Linked DNA regions of Homo sapiens: regions 2 and 3 are each linked to region 1. Evidence: promoter capture Hi-C in human tissues and cell types (Jung and others, 2019). All regions are on one chromosome and are shown on one strand. The core of a region is centred on a gene start or on the middle of the fragment in contact, and the rest is flanking DNA. Distances in the headings are between cores, read along the strand shown. Region 1 holds the start of SPRED2 (sprouty related EVH1 domain containing 2). Region 2 overlaps SPRED2 (sprouty related EVH1 domain containing 2). Region 3 has its middle 42 kb from the start of SPRED2.

Region 1 (3,645 bases), core at 119-2,618:
AGAGGATGGAAAAGTCTACTGTGTTTGGAGAGCAGCAAGGGATAGGGACTATGTCTCTTGTTTCTTTTTCTTTCTTTCTTTCTTCTTCTTTTTTTTTTTTTTTGAGATGGAGTTTTGCTCTTGTTGCCCAGGCTGGGGTGCAGTGGCACAATCTTGGCTCACCGCCACCTTCACCTCCTGGGGTCAAGCGATTCTCCTGCCTCAGCTCCCGAGTAGCTGGGATTACAGGCACGCGCCACCACGCCCGGCTAATTCTGTATTTTTAGTACAGACGATGTTTCACCATGTTGGTCAGGCTGGTCTCGAACTCCCGACCTCAGGTGATCTGCCCGCCTCGGCCTTCCAAAGTGCTGGGATTACAGGCGTGTGCCACCGCGCCCGGCCGGGGCTGCTTCTTAACGCGAGAAATTCCATAATTTCTACGGAAATGCAAACGTTTCTGGGCTGTGCTGGGTTGACCTTTTTCTTTGCATGAGTAATGATTCTTAAAAACATCCGTTCCTTGGCCGGGTGCGGTGGCCCATGCCTATAATCCCAGCACTTTGGGATGCCGAGGCAGGCGGATCACGAGGTCAAGAAATCGAGACCATCCTGGCCAACATGATGAAACCCCCTCCCTACTAAAAATACAAAAATTAGCTGGGCGTGGTGGCGCGCGCCTGTAGTCGCAGCTACTCGGGAGGCTGAGGCAGGAGAATCACTTGAACCCAGGAGGTGGAGGTTGCAGTGAGCCTAGATCGCGCCACTGCACTCCAGCCTGAGGACAGAGCGAGACTCCATCTCAAAACAAAACAAAACAAAAATCCATTCCTCTATTGAGACAAAAAAGAAAAAAAATCACAAGATTCACGTGAAACGGAAAAGCCTCTGCCTTTCAGAACCTTGGCAAAGTCGAACCCCCTCCCCTCTCTGGTTGGGTTGGGCTGGAGAAGCCAGCCCCTGGCACCTGCGCCGCCCCTACCTTCCCACCCCGCGGTGGGGGTAGTTGTGCCTCTGAGCCTGAGCACCTCTTCAGCTGTTTTACTCCCTCCCCTCCCTTGAGTTTCCCATCTCTGCCCCCGCCCAACCCCCCGATTTTTAATCTTGGTGTTTGGAAGGAGGGAGGGGGCAAAAACGGGAGCCAGATGTGTACGAGTCCTCCGCTCCCGCCTCCTCCCTCCTCTCGGGCTTCCTAAAACCCGGAGCCCTAATCAAGGAGGATTCGGAGCCAGACGGTCGCGGCGCAAGCAAACAACTCGGCTCCGCGGCTCCCCCGGGAGTGGAAGCCAGGAGGGAGGGGGAGAGGAAGCGGGGCGTGCTCAGTAGGCGGGACAAAGTTTTTTTTTTTTTCTTCTCCCTTTTTTTCGGTCGCAAGTAGGAAGCTTTTTGCACTCCACCACCTCTGGCCGCTGGGAAGACGTCATCGCTTCCGCCCTACTTCCTCCTCCTGTTGGCGGCGGTGAGAATCCAATATGGAGTAAATCGGTGGAGTCGAGAGATGGGGCTCGGACGGGGCGCCCTGCACCGCCTCCCAGGCGCACCTCCCCCGGCCGCCGACCGCTCCCCGGAACCGTGATTGGCCCGGCCCCCCGGGGGCGACCCCGGACTGAGCCCCCCCACCCGCGGCCGGCGCTCTCCTCCTCCTCGCAGCAGTCCCTGCCGCTCCGAGGCGCGCTTGTTTTTCTCCTGCTCTCCCCCACCGCCGTCCCCTTCCCAAATCTCGCCCCCTCTGCCCGCTCCCGAGCCCCCGGAGCCTCCGCCCGCCTCTCCCCACGGCGCTGCGGCGTTCACTCCCCGCGCAGCCTGCCTTTGCACCCCTTCCCCCAAACCCTATCCCGCGCCCTGCTTCCCCTTCTGCTGCGGCGCCCTCTTCATCTCTAGCCGCCCCCCCTCCCCAAATCAGGCGATCTCCGGAGATGTGAAGAAGGGGGGCGAGCGGACAGGAAGATGAAGGGAGCAAAGCTGCCCGCCGCGGGACAGGCGTCTAGGTGAACAAGAAAATGACCGAAGAAACACACCCAGACGAGTAAGTTTGGTCGCGGGGTGGGACGAGGGTGCCCCTCAGGGGCAGCGTGGGGGCCGGGGCTGAGGATGCGGGCGGGGACGCTTATTGGGTGAACTTGGCGTGGGGTGCAGCGACTCGCTGACCTTTCGGCGTTGGGACGCGAGGCTTCCCTGCTTGTTGAAGTGAGGAGAGGGCAAAAACTGCTGCGGGCTGGCGGGCGCACGCCTAGGGTCGGCGGGCTGGTGGCAGCTCCGGGGGCCAAGGGCGTGCGGGTGACCTCCCGGCGGTCTCCGCTCCCTCTCGGAGGACTTACAGCTCCCCCGCCCCCGAAATCCTCGGCGGCTAGAGCGGAAGACCTGACACCCCCACTCCGGCTTCCCGGGGCTGGTGGGTTTTTGCACAGTGACTTTGTGACTCCCGCCGCCCCGCGAGCCCTGCAGTCCGCTCCGGAGCCCACTGGGGCCTAGGCTCCGCCATTTCGTTTTCTTGAATCGCTCTCATTTGCATACCACATTTTCATTCATAAAAAACACGGCGGAGCGAGAGGAGGACAGGCGCGGGCTGCGCGGGGGTCTGGTGCGCCAGGGTCCCCGCGCGGGCCGGCGTGCTGGAGCCGCCCGAGGGGCCCCGCGGCGCGTGAGTGCCTGTGCACGCGCTTGTGGCCGGCACACGCGTCCTGCGGGGTCGGGCGGCTCGGGGCGGACCGAGGCGTGTGCGGCGGGGGCGTGCGGGGCATCGCGCTGGGGGCGCGCGTGTGTGTGTGTGTATGTGAGTGTCCTCGCGGGTGCGCGTGCACGGGCTTGTGCCTGGCCCGCGGGCCCGAGGGGAACAATGCTCGGGGCGCTCCGCCGGAGGGATCCTGGGCCGCCCCGCGCGGGACCCGTGACTGTCGCCAGCCCGGGGCGGAGGTGCAGCTGCCTCCTGCCTCGCGGTCCAGGGGTCCAGTTTGGCATTTTCCCTCCCTGGTCTGAGGCGTTTTCAGTCTCGGGTGCGACGGGGGCGGGGCCGCGGGGCCCGACGCCTCAAGTCTTATGCCTGGGGTTTGAGCGGTCACCGCGCGGCGGCCGCCGCTGCTGCTCAGTGGCTGTGCCCGCCACCAGCCACTTTTTTTTTTTTGTGAATAAGACGCGCTCCTTTATTGTCACATGATATCCCTCCCCTCCTCCCCTGCACATTCATAAATCCGGAGCCTGCATCCGTTCCTTTCATTCAGTGCTGCCATTAGCCAAGGTAGCGGCGGCGCGGGCTTGGGCGCAAAGAGCTGGTTGGCAGCCGCGGGGACGCGCCCTGGAGGGAGGCCCCGCGCGCGTCTTTGCAGGGGAGTGTGGGCTTCGGAAGGCGTGCTCCGGAGGCCCCAGGTCTTTTGCCCCCCGCAGGCATTGAGCCTCAAGAGTGCTGGGAGGGGAAGTGACTCAGGGCTGGGCGACTGGGAGGCTTGTCTCTTGCAGCAGGTGACAGTGCTGTGCCCTACTCTAGGAAATCTACTCACTTTATTAAATATACCCCCTTTATCCTTTGGCGTCTGCTGTTGCCAGTCCGGGCGGGAGTGGGGCTGGTGTTTGGGAAAGGGAATTTCAGTTTCCTTCCTGTGAGTCCCCAGGGAACTTTGACTGCAGTAACCCCTGATCTTCCAGACAGCCGTCACAGGAGAGGATCCCTGC
Region 2 (3,722 bases), core at 826-3,325, 48 kb after region 1:
TGAAGATGATGTATATTTGTCAAATTCATGATTGCATTATGAGCTTACTAAGTTTGCAGCACTGTTCTGGGTGTTGCATAATCAGAAGTGACCTTACATTCTTAAGGGGGAGATACACAATATGCATAGAAGCATGTAAACAAAAAGAGTACAGATGGTACCAATGCCATGAGAGGTACGATAGAGAGGACGTGACCTGGCCCTTACCTAGTGAATACTTGTCTCCATAATTGTTAGCTGCTGCTACTACTATTGTGGTTGCTGAATGCCCTGCTGGGGTAAGAAGGTCCCTTGATTAAATCTAGTGAAGACCTTCTGATACCAGTGCTTTCTTTTTTTTTTTTTTTTTTTGAGACAGAGTCTCACTCTTGTCGCCCAGGCTGGAGTGCAATGGCGCGATCTCGGCTCCCTGCAACCTCCATCTCCCGGGTTCAAGCGATTCTCCTGCCTCAGCCTCCCGAGTAGCTAGGATTATAGGCACCCGCTACCACGCCCAGCTAATTTTTGTATCTTTAGTAGAGATGAGGTTTCACCCTGTTGGCCAGGCTGGTCTCAAACTCCTGACCTCAGGCGATCCTCCCGCCCCCGCTTCCCAAAGTGCTGGGATTACAGGCGTGAGCCACCGCACCCGACCAGTCCTGTGCTTTCTGATACAATATCATCCCCCTTCTTTGCCTCACCATCTCCCATGGGCATGATCAGTTAACAATTGCTGGAAAAATCAACTTTACCTGAACATTTAGGAAGCTATTTGGGATGTCCAGTGTTTTTCTTCCTCTTGAAAAACACTAACGCAGGTCTGCATTTATTAGGGGAGTGGGGATCATCATCTGTCTCTTCTGCCGCTTTGCTCTAAAGGAACTCAAGAGCCCATAAGCATTTTCCCTGAAAAGGTCATCATTTCCAAAGAAATGAGAGCTCATTTAAAGTTTCTAGGTATGAAAATCCTAGGTTCTTGCCCTTCTCCTTCCACTTCTTGGTGGCAGTGGGTAGGGAATCAAACATCAGATGACCTTCTTCCTCTCTGGTTTCTCCCCACCGCTGTATCAGACCAGGAAGGTGAAAGAGGGTCATGCTGACTCTCCTAACTCCCATCCCTCTGCCACGCCTCCCCTCCACTGCAGCACTGGCATGGTTACCTGTGAAGCAACTGCCAAAGACAACATGGGCAGCCTTTGTGTCTGGGTAGCCCAGTTCACAATGGCGGTTAATGGAAGTTCCTGTTCAGACGCCCTCCAACTCCCCAGAGGGCGTGGGCATCTCCTCTTATGTAAAGGGGAAATCTTAGGAAATTTTTAATTTTTCCTTTAATCAGTCAGCAAGGTCATAAGAGGCTTTGTAAGTATTCATTAGAAGTGGAAAGCAGGCCGGGCGTGGTGGCTCACACCTGCAATGACAGCATTTTGGGAGGCCAAGGCAGGCGGATCACCTGAGGTCAGGAGTTTGAGACCAGCCTGGCAAACATGGTGAAACCCCATCTCTACTAAAAATACAAAAATTAGCCAGGTGTGGTGGTGCGCCTGTAGTCCCAGCTACTCAGGGAGGCTGAGACAGGAGAATTGCTTGAACCTGGGAGGCAGAGGTTGCAGTGAGCCGAGATGGCGCCACTGCACTCCAGCCTGGGTGACAGAGCAAGAGTCCGTCTCAAAAAAAAAAAAAAAGAAGAAGTGGAAAGCAAAATTTCTAGTGAACATACCATAGAAATTTATAGCAGATCTACTGTGTGTCAAGTTTTGTTCTGAACAGGTGGAGAGGAGGGCACAGAAATGAACAGGCAATGAACAAGGAGCCTGGAACTCTTGGTGAATCGAGGTGTGCATGAGAGACAGGCAAATGAATAAGCATACTGTAAATCAAGGCCAGAGAGTGCCTCTGAATGGGGACCTGACAGGGTGGAAACCGATCTTCTTGTCTTGAAGTCTTCCTTGAGGGAAAGGATGAGTTTCACTGGAGTGAGGAAGAGGTAAGGAGGGCTTTTCTCCGTGGGGGTAGCATCTGCCTTCTGGGGTCGGTCTAAGGGAGGTGTGGGGAAGGGGCTGGCCTCACGGGCCTGCACCCTATGCTACCACACCGGCTTGCTCTCAGAAGGGCCCCACACTTGGTTTAATGCTCTGCTGTTGCTGCCTTGAAATTCTTACTAAGTTTTGAACTAATTATTATTTAGTTAATAAATAACAAATTATTTTCATTTTGTACCAGGCCCTGCAAATCATGCAGCTGGTCCTGCCTATGGAGATGGGACTGTAAAAGTAGATTTGGCTGGATTGTGAAGAGCTTTGCCCGTCAAGCTTGGGAACATCTGACTTTATTCCATAAGCAGTAGGGAGCCATGGAAAGTATGCTGACAGGGTTGGGAGAAAGGGGCACTGGAGGCTGTGAGACCAGGGAGGCCAGCAGTCCACCGAGGGAGGCTGATAACACCACGCTGGGATAGACACCGAGAGCTGCAGTTCCCACACCTGGTGGAGATAGGCCGGCTCTGGGCACTGGGAAGGAGGCCGAGAGCGGCCGTTGCAGGTGGCTGAGGCTTCTAGCTGAGCAGATCCTGCACATCAAGAATGCAGGAGAAAGAAGTCCCTCAGCCAGTGGCAGCGAGGCAGATGTTTTGCAGGAGTGGGGCAAGGCTCTTTCCAGAAAGACCCGGAAATCTCTGGTGGGACAGCTTGTAGAAACATGCACTGCAGCTGCTCAGCTACAGCAAATGACCTGCAGATCAAGGTTTTTGTCAGTATCGAGAGCTTCACTAGAACAAATATTCATCCAAAAATAAACTTCCCGTTCTTCCTGTTTTTATAACTTGCCTATTTCCTCTGAGTTTGAGGCTGGGCTCCAGTTCCATGGGTTATTAATCTTCAGAGGATCAAGACCTCTATAGAAGTATTTCCTGTACATGTTTATCTACCCAGCCCTAAATTATATTCTCCAAATGATAAGAGAACTTTTCCATACTCGTGTGTCAGACTTCTCCTTAGGGAGATTTCGATTAGGCACCACAGCAAGTAGGGCCAAACCAGAAAGCCTTATCTCAGAACATAGGGAACCCACGTAACGGTGGGGAGCGGCCTTTGGTGGGTTTTGATGGGCACTCAGCCTCCCTCCTCCATGTGAAAGGTAGCTTCTTTCTGGCCAGAGTTCTAAGGACATAAAGTAATAGCTGAAGAGGGCCCTATCTGAGGATATTTTAAATTCCCTGTTGAATACCACAGGGGATATTAGCTAAAGAAATTCTGCTCCTTTGAAGAGCTCAAAATACCCCTCATTGGACCATCACTTGTTCTTACAGCATCTTCCAACTAGAAACAGGGCCCCGGCCTCACAGACAAGGGAACTAGAGTGAACTTGGTGCTCATGACAGCACAGAGCAAGAGGGAAAAGCTCTGTTGAAGCTTGGGCCGAGTTCAGACCTGATAGACAAGTATGGTTAAGCAGGCGTGGGCGCTTTACTCATCGGCCCGGTCCACCTGCCTCTGGAGCCCTTCCTTGCTCTCCTACTTTTTGTGCTTACAGACGCCAAGCTAGCATGCCGGTGGTATTTTTAAAACGTAAGCCTTCTTGTATGACTCTTGCAGAGAGGCGGTGGTGACCGGGCTGCGTGGGTGGCGGCTTGTGCCGCAGCGGAACTTGGAGAAAGGCCAGCTGCCTTTTACTGAGGCCTTCCGAGGTGGGGCTGGGATGCCACATTTTTCAAACACACCACCGCAAGGCAGCACCCCTCCCCCTTA
Region 3 (3,428 bases), core at 507-3,006, 42 kb before region 1:
CTGCCTTTCCTTTAATGACACCCAGGGATGTACTACAATTGGCCTGTGGCTTCTCCCACCTCGGACATTATGGATGTGTGCCTTCCCTTCACGAAGACTGTATGAGAATCTTTATTATTATCATTTTCAAACTATAAAGTATATAATAAACATTATGGTAAGCATAATTCCCTCCAAGCTTCACCCTTCTGCAAGGCTGAGAAGCCCCTTCTACTCCTCTGAGAATCCCTGAAACATGAAGTTGCTTTGGGTGTTGCATTATTTCAGGTAAAGACCCAGTTTAATGTGGTGATAAGCAGCTTGAACTCAAAGCATGGGCTCAGGAGTTACAAATTCCCACTCAGCACCTCCCCCTTGTGTGATTTTCAGCTACTCATATATCCTCTTAGCCTCAGTTACTTACCTGTAAAACGGGGGTAATAATAGGACTTATCCATAGGGATGTTGGGAAGATTAAATGAGCTAATGCATATATAATGCCTGTCACAGAGTAAGTGATCAAAAAATGTCAGCTACTTTTCTTATTAAAGAGACTTTGGATGGAGGTTGATTTAAGCAAGACCTTTTAGGTAACAATGGCTAAAACCATACTTCCAAGGATGGGAAAATTATTGCCATTGATTTCAAATTATCTTCAGATGTCAGACCAGGCATATTGACATTTGGCTGAAAATGTGATATCTAAAACAATGTCTTAGATTCTGAGCATGGGAGGGGGTATGGGGTAAAGCCTACTGACTCATGTAACCCAACTGAGTGCCTTTATGAACCTGACATCCATTTACAGGGAAGAGTGAATCCAAGAGATGCTATAGGGTGATCCCTCTGAGACCACAGCAGAACTGAGCCCTGTGGGCTGCAGATGTAATGAGATCACTGTTGCCCTGCCCCAGGGGACAGCCCTACTCACTCTCAACCCCCACTGAGCTCACAGTACCAGCTCTCACCCTGCTACCACCTCCCCTCCAGCTCACATGTTCTCATCTCTTTGTTGCACTGAGAACTCATAGAGACTGGGCCATGAGGCCTCATTCATGTCTGTACATCCACACCTGGAACACACAGTACATGTTCTGTAAACCCTTACAGAACTCATTCACGGGAAGCTATTAAATGCTCTCCTTTCTTCTCCAGGGTTGATCTATGTAATCAGTGCTAGTACTATGGCCTATGTGTTTGGGTCAAAACGAACGCCGGCCAGCCTTTAAATTCTTGCTTTCCCAGATTTGATCTGACAAAGATGCTTTGTTTGACCAAACTTTAGTCAGGCTCCTGAATCTTCTCCTACATTTATCTGTACACTTCCTTGTAAAGACAAGTTTAGCAAGAACCCGGCTAAATTGGTTTAGCCAGAATCCCCCACCCTCCATATCTGATCCCTCTCCATATCTGATTGGGTTCCTCATCCTCCACCATCCCCAGGTGATGTGTGATCACCCTGCCCTGTCTTCAGCAAAAATCCTGTTAAGCTAGAGTCTCCCTTATCCCACCCGCCAACCCCCACCCTGCTCCTGGCTATAAATTCCCACTTGCCCACACTGTATTCAGAAGTGAATCCAGGTCTACACTGTGATCTCTTTTCCCCTAGTGAGATAGTCATAAACAGAAACCTGTTTTTACCACTTCAATTACTGTCTAGCTCTGGTTTTACCTTGTCAGTACATATGGCTGCCCTTCATTTAAGAGTCACCTCAAAAAGACCACTCAGTCACAGTCTTTAAATTCTTTATATTTTAATTGTGTAAGTACCTTGCCTCTCTGGTATCTTGTTCCCAAACATTTCTTCAGCTGGACCACTTAAGCCAATGAAAGAGCGAATCTATTTAACATTGATTCCATTAGCTTTGGTTTCCTGAACTCCTTTCCAAATTGGGGAGATGATGGGAAAAGGAGCACCTCTCCATAGCCTTCTCGGACCTGCCACAGGAGAGGCAGGGGAGCTGTGGTTGTTCTCCCACACTCTCATTTGAGTGTGACCTTGTCTCCCCACCCCAATCCTACACATGAAGATAGCAGAGAAGTAACATACCTGTATAAACTTAATAAGAGCGTCTCTCAATGGACCTAGTGGAGCCTGTATCCCCTACCCATAAATAGATTAGTCTTGCATCCTGGCAAGAACCCTGGATTTATAATCATGGGCCCTGCCTCTTGTTGTGACATTTCAGATAATCACTTAGCCTCCTTAGACCTCAATTCTTCATTTTTAAAAGCAGGATTAGCCTAAAATATTTTAATGTTCTCTGTAACACTAAAGACTGGAAAGCACTATACAAACATGAAGAATGACTGGTCTCCCTGGAAAATGCCTTCCTTTCCCCACAGCACAAGCTGGTAGAAAGTTTCTGAGAGCAAAAGTCCCTAGGGAAACAGAAAAGGCCAGCAGATCACAGATCACATTCAAAACAGAAGAGGCTGCAAACCTCCCCAGTCATGTCTTATTTGTGCAGAGTATCTCCTGAAACCTTGGTGGAGACATGAGAATCTCCTGAAGTTACCTTCTCAATGGAAGAATCTAAGCATCAATTGTCCTTAAGTCATATCAATGAAAATCTTAGGCCTGAACTGGAAGCTCCTAATATAGTAACCGATGTAGTAACTGGCCCTTTTAGAGGGCAGAATATGTCAAGAATTGACTACAGAACTAATAGTGCAACCTCTGCTCTATCGTCCAAAGCTATTTTGGGTCTTAAGCCATAAGTGCAATTAAAAAAAATCAATGCTTTCAACAACTGAAAGTCAATTGAGTTACTTAAGCTTTCCCCCAACATATATGGCCATTGACTCTCCAGGAGTCTGACTACAGCATTTGGGCCTTGTGCAGACACCAAACTACTTAGCTAGCAGATAAAGATATAGGGAGCTCTAATCATCCAATCAAGAAACTATTAAAGTATGGGTCATAAATCTTCACTTCTGTCACAGTTCACCAAGGACAAAGTCTGATAACCTTTCGTCCTCACTGAGAGGCAGCTTTATGGAGCTGGAATGACTGAGGGTCCTGTTTTGCCTTGTCTTAGCTGTAGCCTAAGGTGTGGTGCATAAGCATCATCAGAGAACTTTTGTTTCCATAACTGAAAGGGAGTCTTCTTTCCCCAAAGGTACCCAGGAGGTTTTTGCCAGTGTAGCCCCTCAGCCTTAATCCTGAGTGTCTTCCACCTCCAGGAACACTGCCTGTGACCATGAGCAGGCTCCCGAGGACTCCTTGAGTCCTGCCCCTCACTCACAGAGCTGTGAGTGTCAGAGGATGGAGGAGCAGTGTCTACCCCTGGACCTGAGCTCACTGAGGGTCTGTCCTGTGGCCAGAGTACCCTGGGGGTAAACTGACAGGGGCAGGGTGCTCCAGGCACCTTGGGCCCCATCCCAGCACCACTAGCACTGAGATCAATAGCTCAGCATACATTCATTACGCATTCCAACATACCAGT

Evidence for each region. Contacts are between HindIII fragments. The study calls those that stand out against the background at their distance.
Region 2: a fragment that was not itself captured here is called in contact with the fragment with the promoter of SPRED2 in region 1 in 1 of the 25 tissues and cell types used here (pancreas).
Region 3: a contact is called between a fragment that was not itself captured here and the fragment with the promoter of SPRED2 in region 1, in 1 of the 25 tissues and cell types used here (pancreas).

Annotation. Positions count from the first base shown.
Region 1 is chr2:65,430,322-65,433,966 of GRCh38, reverse strand. It overlaps SPRED2 (sprouty related EVH1 domain containing 2), which reads left to right and starts at 1,368. Exons shown (of 6, transcript NM_181784.3): 1 at 1,368-2,005. The coding sequence starts at 1,980. RefSeq lists silencers at 1,466-1,665, 2,436-2,485, 2,516-3,025. The HindIII fragment of the contact is 4,754 bases long and covers 1-3,561 here.
Region 2 is chr2:65,382,915-65,386,636 of GRCh38, reverse strand. The region is part of intron 1 of SPRED2 (sprouty related EVH1 domain containing 2); the gene reads left to right. Among named protein-coding and RNA genes, the nearest start is that of SPRED2, 48 kb to the left of the region's middle. RefSeq lists enhancers at 3,249-3,298, 3,509-3,638. The HindIII fragment of the contact is 5,320 bases long and covers 1-3,722 here.
Region 3 is chr2:65,472,756-65,476,183 of GRCh38, reverse strand. No RefSeq gene overlaps it. Among named protein-coding and RNA genes, the nearest start is that of SPRED2, 42 kb to the right of the region's middle. The HindIII fragment of the contact is 3,905 bases long and covers 1-3,428 here.